Regions from separate parts of the Homo sapiens genome. Here region 1 is linked to region 2. The links are contacts of gene promoters, found by promoter capture Hi-C in human tissues and cell types (Jung and others, 2019). All regions are on one chromosome and are shown on one strand. Each heading gives the region's core, a stretch centred on a gene start or on the middle of the fragment in contact. The rest is flanking DNA. Distances are from core to core; before and after follow the strand shown.

Region 1 (6,976 bases), core at 1,874-4,373, 340 kb before region 2:
TAACCCCATGTGCCCCATGTATGGGAGTGGGATGGTAGCAGATCTAAGACAAAAGGGAGTAGCTGGGACTACAGTGAAATGGAGAGGGAATACCCAATCCAACGCATTGAAATTGCACAAACACAGAGTTTGCAGAAATAAAATGTGCCTAACACTTTGCATTCTCTGAGAGAGATCCAGGCTTTGAACGTTCTGGCAAAATCGGTGTTAAACAATCACCGCTAGAATCATGGGAAGTGAGAAGACTTTTGTACCTACCAGTCTCAAGCTGAACAGTATGAAACAGGGCAGTGAACGACCCCCTTTTTTAATATTAAATACATAACACAAGATTAGATGTCCTGGCTGCCACCTTAGTAGAGCAACAACTCTGCCTGCGTGTTGATGGCTTGATTGTCCTACACAAATAAGGAGTCTCAACAAACAGCCCAGCCAGTCATTATAAAGAATACAGCCTTCTGTAACTCTACCATTAAGTTTGGCAGACCACTAATTAGACAGGCAATTCTCAAGAACTGAACCAGCAGCCTAACTCACTCTGCACCTTGGAGTTACCCTTGAGCTCACCCCCAACAGGACCTAGTAAGTTAAGGTGACTCAAACTAGAGGTGCTTCACTCCTACATTTGTTTGCAGGAGGGGCAGACACTCCAGGCAGCTCCCAAGAAATAGGATATAACATATTACTCACCTGTCATACAGCAGCAAAGGCAGCAAGAGACAGCGCCTGCCAAATACCCCAGGCCCTTGGAGGACACAGTTCTGAGGTTTGCACAAAGCCACAGCTAAATACCTTCACCTGAAGTCCCTGATGCCCACAGCACGAGAAACCATGCAACCAATTCTCCATAGAACCTGGTGCAGGAAAGAACTTTCCTCTCCTGTGAACTTCTACCAGGCAATGGGAATTTTATAGGAATCATTGGCATGGGTGTTGGCCTGAGCGTGCCACATTTGCCACTTCTGATAGAGCCCTTTGGGTTTCAATCTATGCCAAGTCTATTGTGAAACTTCATCACAGCATGAAACATATCCTGTGTTCCTTGTACGTCATACCTCCTCACTTCTGAATGGCTCTTGCTCTTCCTTGCTCATCTGTAGTGAGTGAGTTTGGTTTTTGGAACTGTCAATCATAAATGGTATCCACATTATGCAATTATTGATGTGGAGGCAGCACACTGCAGGAGGTGCCCCCTCTGGCGCCTGTCCCTGCCTGTGTGTCCAAAGGCTCCCCCTCGGCTTCCTCCCCGGGTTGCTCCCTTCCCCACGAGGTCATGTCCTCTCCAAGCCGAGTAGCCTTGCATGGCCTCCCCGAGGTCCTTCCGAGAACCTCCATTTCCTCTGCTGTGGAACAATCCCAACCCCTCTTTCGTGGTTGCAGATGCAGAGAGGATAAGGGGATACAGGCAATGGAGCTGGTAAACAGTGACATCCTATATTAATTTGAGGTCACTGCTTATCACCAGGCAGCCAGTGGGGCCTAAGAGGGCCCCTCCTCCCTTTATCTGCTCTCAGATGTGTCATCTCTGCTGCAAGGAGGAAATTAGCTGGGCCAATATGACCATGTTTTGGAATGGGAGAATGGAGGGAGGCATTCTCAGACTCTTGAAACTTTCTTCCATGTATAACTTGATGCATTTTTACCAACGTGTATGCCCATGCAACCGCCACCCAGATCAAGATGTGGAACACTTCCGTTACCCCAGGAAGTGCCCCCATCCCACTCCTGCCCAGCCGCCACCCCCAGCCCCTCATTTCCAACACAGTAGATTAGTTTTGCAAGTTCTTGAACGTTACATAAAAGAAATCATATAGTACATAGCCTTTTGTCCGGCTTCTTTAACTCAACATAATGTTTTGAGGGTTTTTGTTGTGTTGTTGTTGTTGCTGTTGCTGTTTTGAGATGGAATCTTGCTCTGTTGCTCAGGCTGGAGTGCAGTGGCATGATCACAGCTCACTGCGGACTCAACCTTCTGGGTTCAAGCATTTCTCCCACCTCAGCCTCCCCAGTAGCTGAGACTATAGGCACGCACCACCATGCCCAGCTAATTTCTGTATTTTTTGTGGAGACGGGGTTTCGCCTTGTTGCCCAGGCTGGTCTTGAACTCCTGAGCTCAAGCAATCCACCTGCCTTGGCCTCTCAAAGTGCTGGGGGTACATGAGCCATCATACCCTGCCAACATAACATTTTTGAGGTTAATCCATGTTGTTGCAAATATCCATTCCTTTTATTTATTGCTATATAGTATTCCATTGTGTGAGTGCACTGGAATTCATTCTACTGTTGATGGACATCTGGGCAGCTTCCAGTTTTTTAGCTGTTAGGGTCCATGTTACTGTGGACACATTGGTATATATGTTTGGTGAGCACCTGCACGCCTTTCTCTTGGGTGTATACCCAGGGGTGGGAACGCTGGCAAGCACATGGCCAGTTTTAGCTGACTCCGCCACAGTCCCCCAGTGTGGTCGTACCACACCCACTCTCTCCAGCAATGGCCTTAAGCTTTTTTGGTGGCACCAGCCTCTTCTTTTCATCATACAATAGAACGAGCCTACACCACGCAGTCAGACAGACTTCAGCTCATGTCTCGGCACCTCTGAGCAACCCTGGGCAAGTTACTTAACTTCTCTGAGGTTTCACTTGCCCACAGGAATAAATAAAGCCTGAGTTGGCATCACTGTCAAATCAGTATCACATTCACATGGCATAGTGCCAGGCAATTGGCACTAAGTGAATATTCTCTCCCTCCCTCTTACCCACCCATGAAGCTCCCTGAAGTGCAGTCACCAAGTAAACATTTCCAGACCTTTCACCCCACCATGGAGTCCTTTAAAATTCCTCTGCCTATACACTGAGAACCTATTTATCACTTTCTTCCCCGATACTTATGTGATGGGGCTGCTTGTCTCCATCCCACTGCAGTGGATGGGGAAATCCAACAACTGAGGAGTCAGAAGCAGACAGCAGACTATGAGTCATGGAAGGTAACAGGTAATAGAAGGTGGCTTCCATAAAGTGACCCTGGGCCAGGGAGGAGACAGACATGCTTTGACCAAAGTAAGGTCCAAATTTACATTGTCTGCTTATGTACCATTACAGAAAGATGTCCAAGACATATTGTGGGTTTTTTTGATTTTTTATTTGTTTTTCTGTTTGTTTTTGAGACAGAGTTTCACTCTTGTTGCCCAGGCTGGAGTTCAATGGCGCGATCTCGGCTCGCTGCAACCTCCACCTCCTGGGTTCAAGCAATTCTCCTGCCTCAGCCTCCCGAGTAGCTGGGATTACAGGTATGCATCACCACACCCGGCTTATTTTTTGTACTTTTAGTAGAGACAGGGTTTCACCATGTTGGCCAGGCTTGTCTTGAACTCCTGACCTCAGGTGATCCACCCGCCTTGGCCTCTCAAGGTGCTGGGACTACAGGTGTGAGCCACCGCGCCCAGCCTACAGGACATATTGTTAACTAAAACAAGCAAAATCAGGACAAGATGAATACTTTGGTGCTTTTGTATAAAAAGGAGGGAGAAGAGTGTTTTTATATTGACTTACATCTAGGAATGGATACCCCTAGGGCTGTGGGAGAGGCAACAGTGACTGGGGACACTGTGAGAGGGAACATTTCAGTGTATTGTATCCACGTGGACAGCTTTTGGGCTTAAACTACATGAACAGATCATCTATTCAGACAATTTTTCATATATAGGCTGGGCATAGTGGCTACGCCTGTAATCCCAACACCTTGGGAGTCCGAGGCGGGTGGATCACCTGAGGTCAGGAGTTTGAGACCAGTCTGGCCAATATAGCAAAACCCCAACTCTATTTAAAATAGAAAAATTAGCTGGGCATGGTGGTTCGTGCCTTAATCCCAGCTACTCGGGAAGCTGAGGCAGGAGAATCGCTTGAGCCTGGGAGGTGGAGGTTGCAGTGAGCCGGGATCATGCCACTGCACTCCAGCCTAAGCAACTGAGTGAAACTCCGTCTCAAAAAAAAAAAAAATTCATATATATATTTAGACATTTTTCAGTTATGCCAGCAGGTGGGTATGAATCCCTTGATATAAGCTCCATGAAGATTTCTGGCAGATCAACCCTGGCAAAGCAAAATGTCTGTGAGGTTTGTGCATGTAGGTGTGTGTGCGTAAGTGGATGCAGGTAAGCATGTGTGTACGTGTGTCTGTGTGTTAGACATCTCCATCACAACCTACCAGCCTGGGCAATATAATGAGACACTCTCTCTACAAAAAAATAAAAATAAAAATTAGCCAGGCATGGTGGCACATGCCTGTAGTCCCAGCCACTCCTGAGTAAGGAGGATCATTTAAGCCCAGGAGTCTGAGGCTGCAGTGAGCCATGATCGCACCGCTGTCTCCAGCCTGGGCAACAGAGTGAGATGCTATTTCAATCAATCAATCAATCACCTGGGAGGAGGAAGGGGCTGTCATGTCCTGTCAAGGGCAGGGCCCTAAATGTCCATGAAGGGGACCTGACCTAAGCTCTTCATAACTTCTCCCCATCACCCCACCCTTCAACTCTGTAGAATTCAAATTTCATCACTAGAAATCTAGGATAACAAAATGACTAACTGTTCTTTAAGATGACTGGGGACAGTGTGAATGGGGACATTTTAGTGTATTCTTATATAGCTTTTGGGCTTAAACCACATGGACAGAGCCATGTGGATCTGAATTCAAATTTCATCACTAGAAATGTGGAGTAACAAAATGACTGTTCTTTAAGGTTCTGTGTGTGTGTGTATGTAGGTAGGTATATGTGTAGGGTAGAGAGGTGAGTGTATGTAGGTGTGTGTACCTGTATATGTCATGTGGGTTATGTGTAAGGTGTAGTGGTGAGTATATGTAGGTATGTGTACCTATATATGTGGGTGAGTATATATAAGGGGGTAGATGTGTCTTTTTACTCAGCAAAAAGAGAAGAAAAAGAAGTTTTTCTTTTTTAAAAGACATCTGTAGAGATGGGGTCTCACTGTGTTGCCCAGGCTGGTTTCAAGTTCCCAGGCTCAAGCAATCCTCCTGCCTCAGCCTCCCAAATTGGTGGGATTACAGGCATAAGCCACCATGTCCAGCCTAGGACCCTTTTCTAGATGCCTAGTATGTAAAGGAAAGTATTGATTGCTTTATATTTGGTGTGTGAATTATTCCTTAATACTGAGAAGCTTGACAGCTTACATGTAAAGGATTACAAATAACACCTTCTTTTATTTTTCTGAGACAGGGTCTCACTCTGTCACCCAAGCTGGAGTGCAGTGGTGCAATCATGGCTCACTGCAGCCTCAGACTCCTGGGCTCAAGTGATCCTGCCACCTTAGCCTCCCAAAGTGTTGGGAGCACTGAACCCAGCTGACGAGAAGAAAAATCTATTCCCCAATAAATGGCAGGCCTTAGGATATTCCCCCTGTCAAAAAATAAAGCCCAGAATGACCATCTGCCCAGAGGTTCAAAAGAAGGCCACCCCAGGGGCCAGACCCACAGCCCAGTGGACAGGTGACGCTAATTAACAATGAACAAGCCAGGTGCGGTGGCTCACCCCTGTAATCCCAGCACTTTGGGAGGCCAAGGCGGGTAGATCACCTGAGGTCAGGAGTTCAAGACCAGCCTGGCCAAGATGGTGAAACTACAAAAATACTAAAAATACAAAAATTATCCAGGCGTGGTGGCGGGCGCCTGTAATCCCAGCTACTCAGGAGGCTGAGGCAGAGAACTGCTTGAACCCAGGAGGCAGAGGTTGCAGTGAGCCGAGATTGCGCCATTGCACTCCAGCCTGGGCGACAGAGCGAGACTCCGTCTCAAAAAAAAAAAAAAAAAAAAAAAAAAACAATGAACATACCTAGGCTTGGCATGGAGCCACCACCACTGGGGGTCCCCCCCACAGAACTCCTTCACTCCAGGCAGTGTGTCACTCAGTTAAACTCAGAGAAGTCCAGCAAAAAAAAGGGCCAGCAAGCAGACTCAGGCCAGACCTGAAGGAGCAGGTGTACACTGAGAGGCCCGTATTCCTGAGGGGCCTTACTGGCAGGAAGGTAAACACCCCAACAGATGGGGGGAGGGGACATCCCTTCCAGTAAAAGCAGCACCTTCCCTCTGGGGACACAGCCAGGCCAGGGCTCCCCAACCTTCTCCCTCTCACTCAAAGGCGGTGTGACAGAAATAAACACACACACATACACAGAGGCTGAGAAAACCAGAGAGAAGCTGAGGGGCAGGGGAGGGAGCCTTTTTTATTATCCCAAAATGCAAAGTATTGAAGGCACTTACAATAACAAGGCAGGACAGAGGGTAGGCAAGTGGGGGCACGGGATCCAGCACAGAGGTAACTCAACGGCCCACCTGCTCACGGCCCAGCCTGGAGAAAAAGAAAAGCTACAGGGCCAGGTCTGAAGGCAGTCAGGGCGGCTAGCTCTACAGAAGATAAAAATCCTTTCTACAGAGGATCAGGAAGGCAGGAGCACACGGCAGCAAGGGGCAGGCTGGAGGTCACGAGTTAGTGGCTCTTCTCAGCAGCGAGGACAGCCCTCAGGTCCCCTGCTGGAAGAGGTCTCGGTACATCTCAATGAGGCGGGCAGCCTCACGCTGGCCGGACAGCAGAGCACCGTGGGTGGTGGAATAGTACTTGCGGTGGGTGGCCTCACCGGAAAACAGCACCTGCATGGGCTGCGGGGCGGGGATGGGGAGGTCAGGGTGGAGGAGCAGCAAAGGCCAGAAGGCCACAAGGCCACCCCTCTCCACCAGAACCTCCCATCCCAATGACAAATTAGAGAGGCTCTGAGACGCAGGTGCTGCTGCTTCCACAGGATGAAGAGCTGCCCATCCTATCTGGCCACTTTCCCCTGCTTCTTCCCTTGGCTCTTTCTGTCTTGAGGCCATTAGGAGTCCCGGCTCTGTGGTCTCAAAGGCTCTTTGTGCCTCTTACTTGTCAACTTGAGGCAGGTGGTTTAACCTCCCTAAGCCTTGCTTTTCTCA
Region 2 (7,248 bases), core at 1,648-4,147:
AATGAGACAGAGCCCCTGGAGACAGGCATGCTACTTGAACTAGGGGGTCAAAGAAGCCTTTCTGAACTAGCGTGCAGAACACAGCTGAGCTGTTCTCAGGCTCTGAGAAGATTGGTGTTTTAGGCAGAGAGCATGGTAAATGCAAAAGTCCTAAAACAAGAATGAGCTTGGCATGTTTGAAGAATAGAAAGCAGGTCAGTGTGGTCTAGGTCAAGAAAGCTAGGGATGGCTGGCTGCGTGACTCACGCCTATAATCCCAGCACTTTGGGAGGCCTAGGCGGGTGGATCACCTGAGCTCAGGAGGTTGAGACCAGCCTCGCCAACATGGTGAAACCCTTTCTCTACTAAAAATACAAAAATTAGCATGGTGGTGGGCGCCTGTAATCCCAGCTACTCGGGAGGCTGAGGCAGGAGAATCGCTTGAACCCAGGAGGCAGAGGTTGCAGTGAGCTGAAATCATCCCATTGCACTCCAGCCTGGGTGACAAGATCAAAACTCCATCATAGGAAAAAAAAAAAAAAAAGCAAGCAAGCTAGGGAAAGGGGCAGAGATTGTCAAGGTCAAGGAGGTGGCAGGGGCCACTCATGTAGAGTGCTGTAGGAAAGGACTCTGGGTTTTAGTTGGAGTGAAACAGGGAACCACTGGAAGGTTCCGGCAGGGAAAGAAGAGGATCTGATTTACATTAAAGACTTCTCTGGTGGTTGTGAGGACTTTGGAGGGGCCAGGATGAAAACTGGGAGACCAGTAAGGAGGCCACAGCCCAGGAGACAGGATGACTATGGTCAGGATGGGAACCACAGAGATGGCAGGAGGCAGCCAGATTCCTGGTGTTTTGAGGGTGTAGGAGATAAGGGAGAGAAAAGAAGCATGACTCCTTGGGCACTGGGTGGATGGAAGGTGCCCTTTTACCAGGCCAGAGAAGCCAGGGGAGGAGCAGTGGCTCAGAAGGGACTCCAGAACTCAGTTCGGAACAAGTGAAGTTTGAGATGCTATTGGATTCCAAGTGGGTTGTCAGGGAGGGAAGGAGGCAGGAGAGGACCAAGTGGGCATCAGGCAGGCATGAGACCTCTCTCAGGAGGCAGTGCTGTAGAGCAGACAGCACCTAAAAGCTGTTGGGCCACCAGACCTTCCTCACAGGGGAAGCAGTCCTGTCACTGGCCTCAGAGCCTCACATGCATGAGTTGCTTTGCCAGCCAGCAGGCCCTGCTACATTCCTCGTGGGGCAAGTACTAATGACAGGTCAGGAGAATCAGGAAGGTGAGGCGGGGGTCCTCTGAGCCTTCAAGAAATTAGCAAAGAACAACTCTATGGGAGTTAATAGATCCCTTTCTCGGCCGGGCGCGGTGGCTCACGCCTGGAATCCCAGCACTTTGGGAGGCCGAGGCAGGCAGATCACTTGAGGTCAGGAGTTTGAGACCAGCCTGGCCAACATGGTGAAACCCCGTCTCTACTAAAAATGCAAAAATTAGCCAGGCATGGTGGCACACACCTGTAGTCCCAGCTACTCAGGAGGCTGAGGCAGGAGAATCTCTAGACCCAGGAGGCAGAGGTTGCAGTGAGCCAAGATTGGACCACTGCGCTCCAGCCTGGGCAAGAGAGTGAGACTCCATTTCAAAAAAAAAAAGACCCCTTTCTCCTTCCTTTCTCATGGCATCAGCCAGGTACCAGAAGGCAGTCAGATGAGGCACTCTTCTGCATTCCAGCTTCAGCCACAGATGGAGGGGAAGGGATGATGTGGCCCAAACAAAAGGAAAGGAAGCCCACATTTGTTCACATTTATGGAGGGCCCATTGTAGACAGGCACATCCTAAGGTTCTTTCAGTTAATCCTTCCCCAATCCCGTGACAGGGAAAGTGTTGCCAAGGTGCACAGCTGGCCAGAGGCTAGCACAGGATTTGAACCCAAAACCTGCTGCCTCACTGCAACTGGTCATACACCTTGCAGGGCACAGAGACCCCTGCAGCGAGACCCACACAGCCACCTGCCTTCAAGCCCAAAGAGGACCCAAGGTCACTTGGCGGGAGGGAGGCTGAGGGTGCACTTAGGTGGAAGCAACATTTAGTCCAGACATTAACCCTGCTTTCACATGGCTGCCACAGGTCCCAGGTCGCTGGCTGTCCTCCTAGATATTTTTGAGGCTTCACGGCTTCCATACAGAGAATCCCTTTTTCGTGTTTTTGGTTTGTTTCATGTTTTCTTGGCACTTCCTTCCCAACTGAGAAGGAAGTAGGTGACAGAGTGTTCCCAATACAGCAAAGTTTCCGACCTGACTGTCCAGAGGCTCTGAGTGCATCCCGGAAATAAACACCCACCCTTCCCAAAGGGACAGGCCTCACAGCCTTGGATCGGATTCCTGGGCGCGACCCAGGTCCGCGGAGGGCGGGGAGGCCGTTTTGAGCTGGTGTCGCCGCCGAGAACTGTCCAGACCCAGCGGAGGGCGGCAGCACTCGACCTCTAGGCGCACCCGGTCGAGGCTCGGCCCCACCTTAGCGTCACCCTGGGCCCGCGGGCGGCAGGAGGAGGTCAGCGGCCGCTGCCCGTCCCCTTCTGGCCCTACCTTTCCCCCAGCCTGAGCAGACGCCCAGCGCCACCTACCCCCTTTTCCCCGGATGCTGGATGCGGCGCCTGGAGCCCTCAGTGTTCCCGAAACTCTTGCGACAGGGCCCGCTCTTCCGGATCCCCGCGCGTCCTGTCCCCTCCTGGGCCCCCCGCGCACCCCAGACCCAGGGCGTCCCGGCGGACTCCGTCCTGCCGCTGCAGCCACCTTCCCTAAAGGCGTCCGTGCGTGCTGAGCCGAAAGGACCCAACGCCCGGGAAGCGATCTTACCTCGGGTACCCCCGGCCCTGAGACCTGGCGACCGCCGCCCGGGGCCCAGGACCCTTCCCGCAGCGAGGAGGCGGGGCGGGCAGAGCGCGCGGCCATTGGCCATGTGGAGGGGCGGGGCTACTCGGCCGCGCGTGGTTGGCTGGCGACGCAGGCGGCTGCGCAGCGGGGACGGTCACTGGGCCTTGGTTTGCGGGTCGGGAAGCGCTAGACTGGGCTCGGAGAACCGACCTGATTTTTTGCTGGGGGCGCGCAGTCTCGAGCAACTTCCAGGGGAAGTCCGGTGTCCGGCCAGAAACCAGGCAGGTGGCCGGCCTCGGAGTCATCGGGGGGCTGAGAATTCCATCCCCACGCTTCCCAAGTGAAGCAGCCCCTCCTCCCCCTGGGAACTTTGAGGGGTGAGGGTCTTCGTGTCGTTCTCTCCGGCACCCCCATGGCCTGGCATACAGTTAGTGCCCAATAAACGTTGGGTGCCGCTGAAGTCACAGGGGCAAGGATGCCTATCCTGGAGACGTGCACGCTGGGCCTGTGGGAGTGGGAGCGGGCGGGGGACTGCTGGGTAGGTAGGCGCAAGGCAGGGACGCCAAGGTTGGCTGGCGGGCAGGCTGGGTATGGGTTGGGTGCTGCGTGGGAGAGGCCTCTTACGCCCAAGGGCCTGGGACAGGTACCTCCCGCAGTTCCTGCCATCTGCCTCGCCCTTCCCCTTCTGGGGCAGAGGCCAGCACTTACTGAGCACCTACGATCTTCCAGGCACAGGGTCTTCTATTCTTTTTTTTTTTTTTTTTTTTTGAGACAGAGTCATGCTCTGTCGCCCAGGCTGGAGTACAATGGCGCGATCTCGGCTCACTGCAACCTCCACCTCCTGGGTTCAAGCAATTCTCCTGCCTCAGCCTCCCAAGTAGCTGAGATTACAGGCACATGCCACTGCGCCCGGCTAATTTTTGTATTTTTAGTAGAGACGGAGTTTCACCATGTTGGCCAGGCTGGTCTCAAACTCCTGACCTCAGGTGATCCTCCCACCTCGGCCTCCCAAAGTGCTGGGATTACAGGCGTGAGCCACTACGCCCAGCCTCAAGTGAGGTTTTATTACTGTACTTTATATCCCTGTGAATATTTCACAACCTTCAGCATTTACAAAGTATGCTTAATCACACCTGAACTGTAATAAAACCAGCTCTGCCTAGTTTAGCCAAGAGGGCATAAATGTTGATTAGTTCAAGAATCAATCCTGCCTGCTCCCCACCGGAGCAGCTCTAGCAGCTTCATATCTAATTCTTTCAGGAAGAACATTGAAAGTGTAGGAGCGGGCTTCCAAGTGCAGCTATCACTCCTGTCTTTGCTGGACCTCAAAGAGCATTCAAACAATCCCACTGCCTGACTAGGTGGTTCCCTGCCACCTATCAACAGCTTTTATAAAGATTTAGACAAAGAAGAACACAACAACATGCTTATGGTATTCCTATCAAAAGCTCATGATCTGAAACTAATCATAGGGAAACAGTAAGCAAACCCAAAACGAGAGACATTTGACAGCTGTCCTATCCAATACAATGGCTACTAGCCACATGTAGCTATTTTAATTAAAATTAAATAATACTTAGAAGCCAGTTCCTGAGACCCACGAGCCACATTTCTCTTTTTTTTTTTTTTTTTTTTTTTTGAAACAGAATCTCACTCTTTCACCCAGGCTGGAGTGCAGTGGCCCAATCTCGGCTCACTGCAACCTCCGCCTCCCGGGTTCAAGTGATTCTCCTGCCTCAGCCTCACGAGTAGCTGGGACTACAGGCGCATGTCACCACGCCCGGCCAATTTTTGTATTTTTAGTAGAGACGAGGTTTCACCATATGGGCCAGGCAGGTCTCAAACTCCTGACCTCAAGTGATCCACCCACCTTGGCCTCCCAAAGTGCTGGGATTACAGGCGTGAGCCACTGCACCTGGCCCATGAGCCACATTTCAAATGCTATTTTCATGTAGCTAATGGCTTCATACTCGGTGACACAGAGCATTTCTATTTTTTTTGTTTGTTTTGTTTTGAGACAGAGTTTCACTCTTGTTGTTGAGGTTGGAGTACAATGGCGTGATCTCGGCTCACCACAACCTCTGCCTCCCAGGTTCAAGCGATTCTCCTGCCTCAGCCTCCCGAGTAGCTGGGATTATAGGCATGCACCACCATGCCCAGCTAATTTTGCATTTTTAGTAGACACGGGGTTTCTCCACCTTGGCCAGGTTGGTCTCAAACTCCCGACCTCAGGTGATCTGCCTGCCTCAGCCTCCCAAAGTTCTGGGATTACAGGTGTGAGCCACAGCGTCAGGCCCAAACAGAGCATTTCTATCATCACTGAAAGTTCTATTGGATAGCACTGCTCTGCAGAATAACTCTTCAAAAATTTCAAGGTCAGGAAAAACAAGGAGACTGAGAGACTGCTCCAGAGAAAAGGACACCAAAGTGACATGACAACTGAATGCAATATGGGAACCTGGGTTGGATCCTGAAACAGAAAAAGGACTTCAGGTGAAATCCAAATAAGGCTTTTGGATCAGTTAACAATAATCTAGCTGGGCATGGTGGCTCACGCCTCTAATTCCAGCACTTTGGGACGCCGAGGTGGGTGGATCACCTGAGGTCAGGAGTTTGAAACCAGCCTGGACAACATGGTGAAACCCTGTCTCTACTAAAAATACAAAAATCAGCCAGGCATGGTGGTGGGCACCTGCAATCCCAGCTACTCAGGAGGCTGAGGTAGGAGAATCGCTTGAACCCGGGAGGCAGAGGCGGCAGTGAGCCGAGATCGCACCATTGCACTCCAGCTTGGGCAACAACAGTGAAACTCTGTCTCAAATTAACAACAACAACAACAATCTGTCAGTGTTAGGATCATTGTACTGGGTTATGTAAGATGTAAACATTTGCATTATTTTTGCAACTATGTTGTAAATCTGAAATTATTTCAAAAATATAAAGTAAAATAAATCATCTTTTGACCCTATCTGGCTATTTATATTATCTTTTATTTCTTATTGCATCCCACCCTATTTCATGGGTGTAATTCATTGATCACTGTCCATTTATTAGGAGAAGAGCAAGTCCAGAGAGTGATCTATGCTCTAGGCTGCCCCCAGTGAGGGCCTTGGAGCTGCCCCCTGCCCAGTAAAGTTCAGCACAGACAGGCCCATCTCCAGGCCTCCGAGGGAGGCTGTGACCCACCCATGATGACTCAGCACCCACCAGCTCACGTCACCCCCTGGAGAGCAGAGGTCAGGCGCAAAGACAGTGCCAGAGGGCTCCAAACTCGGTTATGTTCTCCGGTCTGAGCCCTTGAGGGAACTATGACTAAAAAACATAATCCCCTCCTTTATGACTTCATTTTGAATAGTATTTTAAACAGTTATTCTTTATGTTTTATTTATTTATTTTTAAAATAAAACAGACACAGTCTTGCTACATTGCTCTGGTTGGTCTTGAACTCCTGGGCTCAAGCAATCCTTCCATCTAAGCCTCCGAAGTAGCTAGGACCACAGGCACACTCCACTGCACTTAAACAGATATTCTTTATACTATTTTAATTTTTTCATTCTTTCAACTTAATTTACCAAAAATATATACTGTTTACAGCTAATGTGGGGAAAACAGAAATATTTGATGATGAAAACCAAAATCCATATTCATAATGCCACCATCTACAAAAATTAGCCAGTCATGGTGGCACACATCTGTAATCCCAGCTACTCAGGAGACTAAGGCAGGAGAATTGCCTGAACCCAGGAAACGGAGGTTACAGTGAGCCAAGATCATGCCACTGCACTCCAGCCTGGGCGACAGAGTGACTCCATCTCAAAAAAAATACTACTAATAATAATAATGCCACCATCCAGGGGTGACTGCTGGTGACGCTCCAGTGTCTTTTCTAGTATTTTTTTTTTTTCCTACAATACAGAGTCTCCAAGTCCTCTGACTTCCTGGGGTTATCCTTGCCTTGACCAGCCATGTAAGATGGTTCTGGTTCTAGCCATGATGTGGGACGTAATAGGGTCTGGCATGAGCCTGCCTTACCTCTCAGGGGTCTCAGGAGGAGGGGGCTTGGCTCACTTCAGCTCCTGGGTCAGTCGCTGCTACAGCCAGCTCCTCCTCTGGGACTGTGGTTGGCATAGCCCTTTCATCAGGCCTCAGGACACTGTGTGGCTCGTCACCTGCCGCTGACACAATACAGTGTGCTTAATCACATCTGAACTGTAATAAAACCAACTCTGCCTAGTTTAGCCAAGAGGGCATAAATGTTGATTAGTTCAAGAATCAATCCAGCCCTGCCTGGGCTCTTGCGGCTTCATATCTAATTGTTTCAGGAAGAACAATTGAAAGTGTGGGAGCCATAAGATTAGGCACACTTAATTGTATTGCTGCTTGGCAAGGACATGCCTTGAGAG

What was found. Contacts are between HindIII fragments. The study calls those that stand out against the background at their distance.
Region 1: a contact is called between a fragment that was not itself captured here and the fragment with the promoter of MAVS in region 2, in 1 of the 25 tissues and cell types used here (dorsolateral prefrontal cortex).

What each region holds. Positions count from the first base shown.
Region 1 is chr20:4,186,961-4,193,936 of GRCh38, reverse strand. It overlaps SMOX (spermine oxidase), which reads right to left. Exons shown (of 7, transcript NM_175839.3): 7 at 6,210-6,667. The coding sequence ends at 6,530. LINC01433 (long intergenic non-protein coding RNA 1433) reads right to left here and starts at 847. Exons shown (of 3, transcript NR_033917.1): 1 at 691-847. The HindIII fragment of the contact is 6,243 bases long and covers 2-6,244 here.
Region 2 is chr20:3,842,483-3,849,730 of GRCh38, reverse strand. It overlaps MAVS (mitochondrial antiviral signaling protein), which reads right to left and starts at 2,897. Exons shown (of 7, transcript NM_020746.5): 1 at 2,828-2,897. RefSeq lists silencers at 2,621-3,000, 3,431-3,480, enhancers at 4,842-4,981, 5,970-6,114 and a cis regulatory region at 6,037-6,047. The HindIII fragment of the contact is 19,994 bases long and covers 1-7,248 here.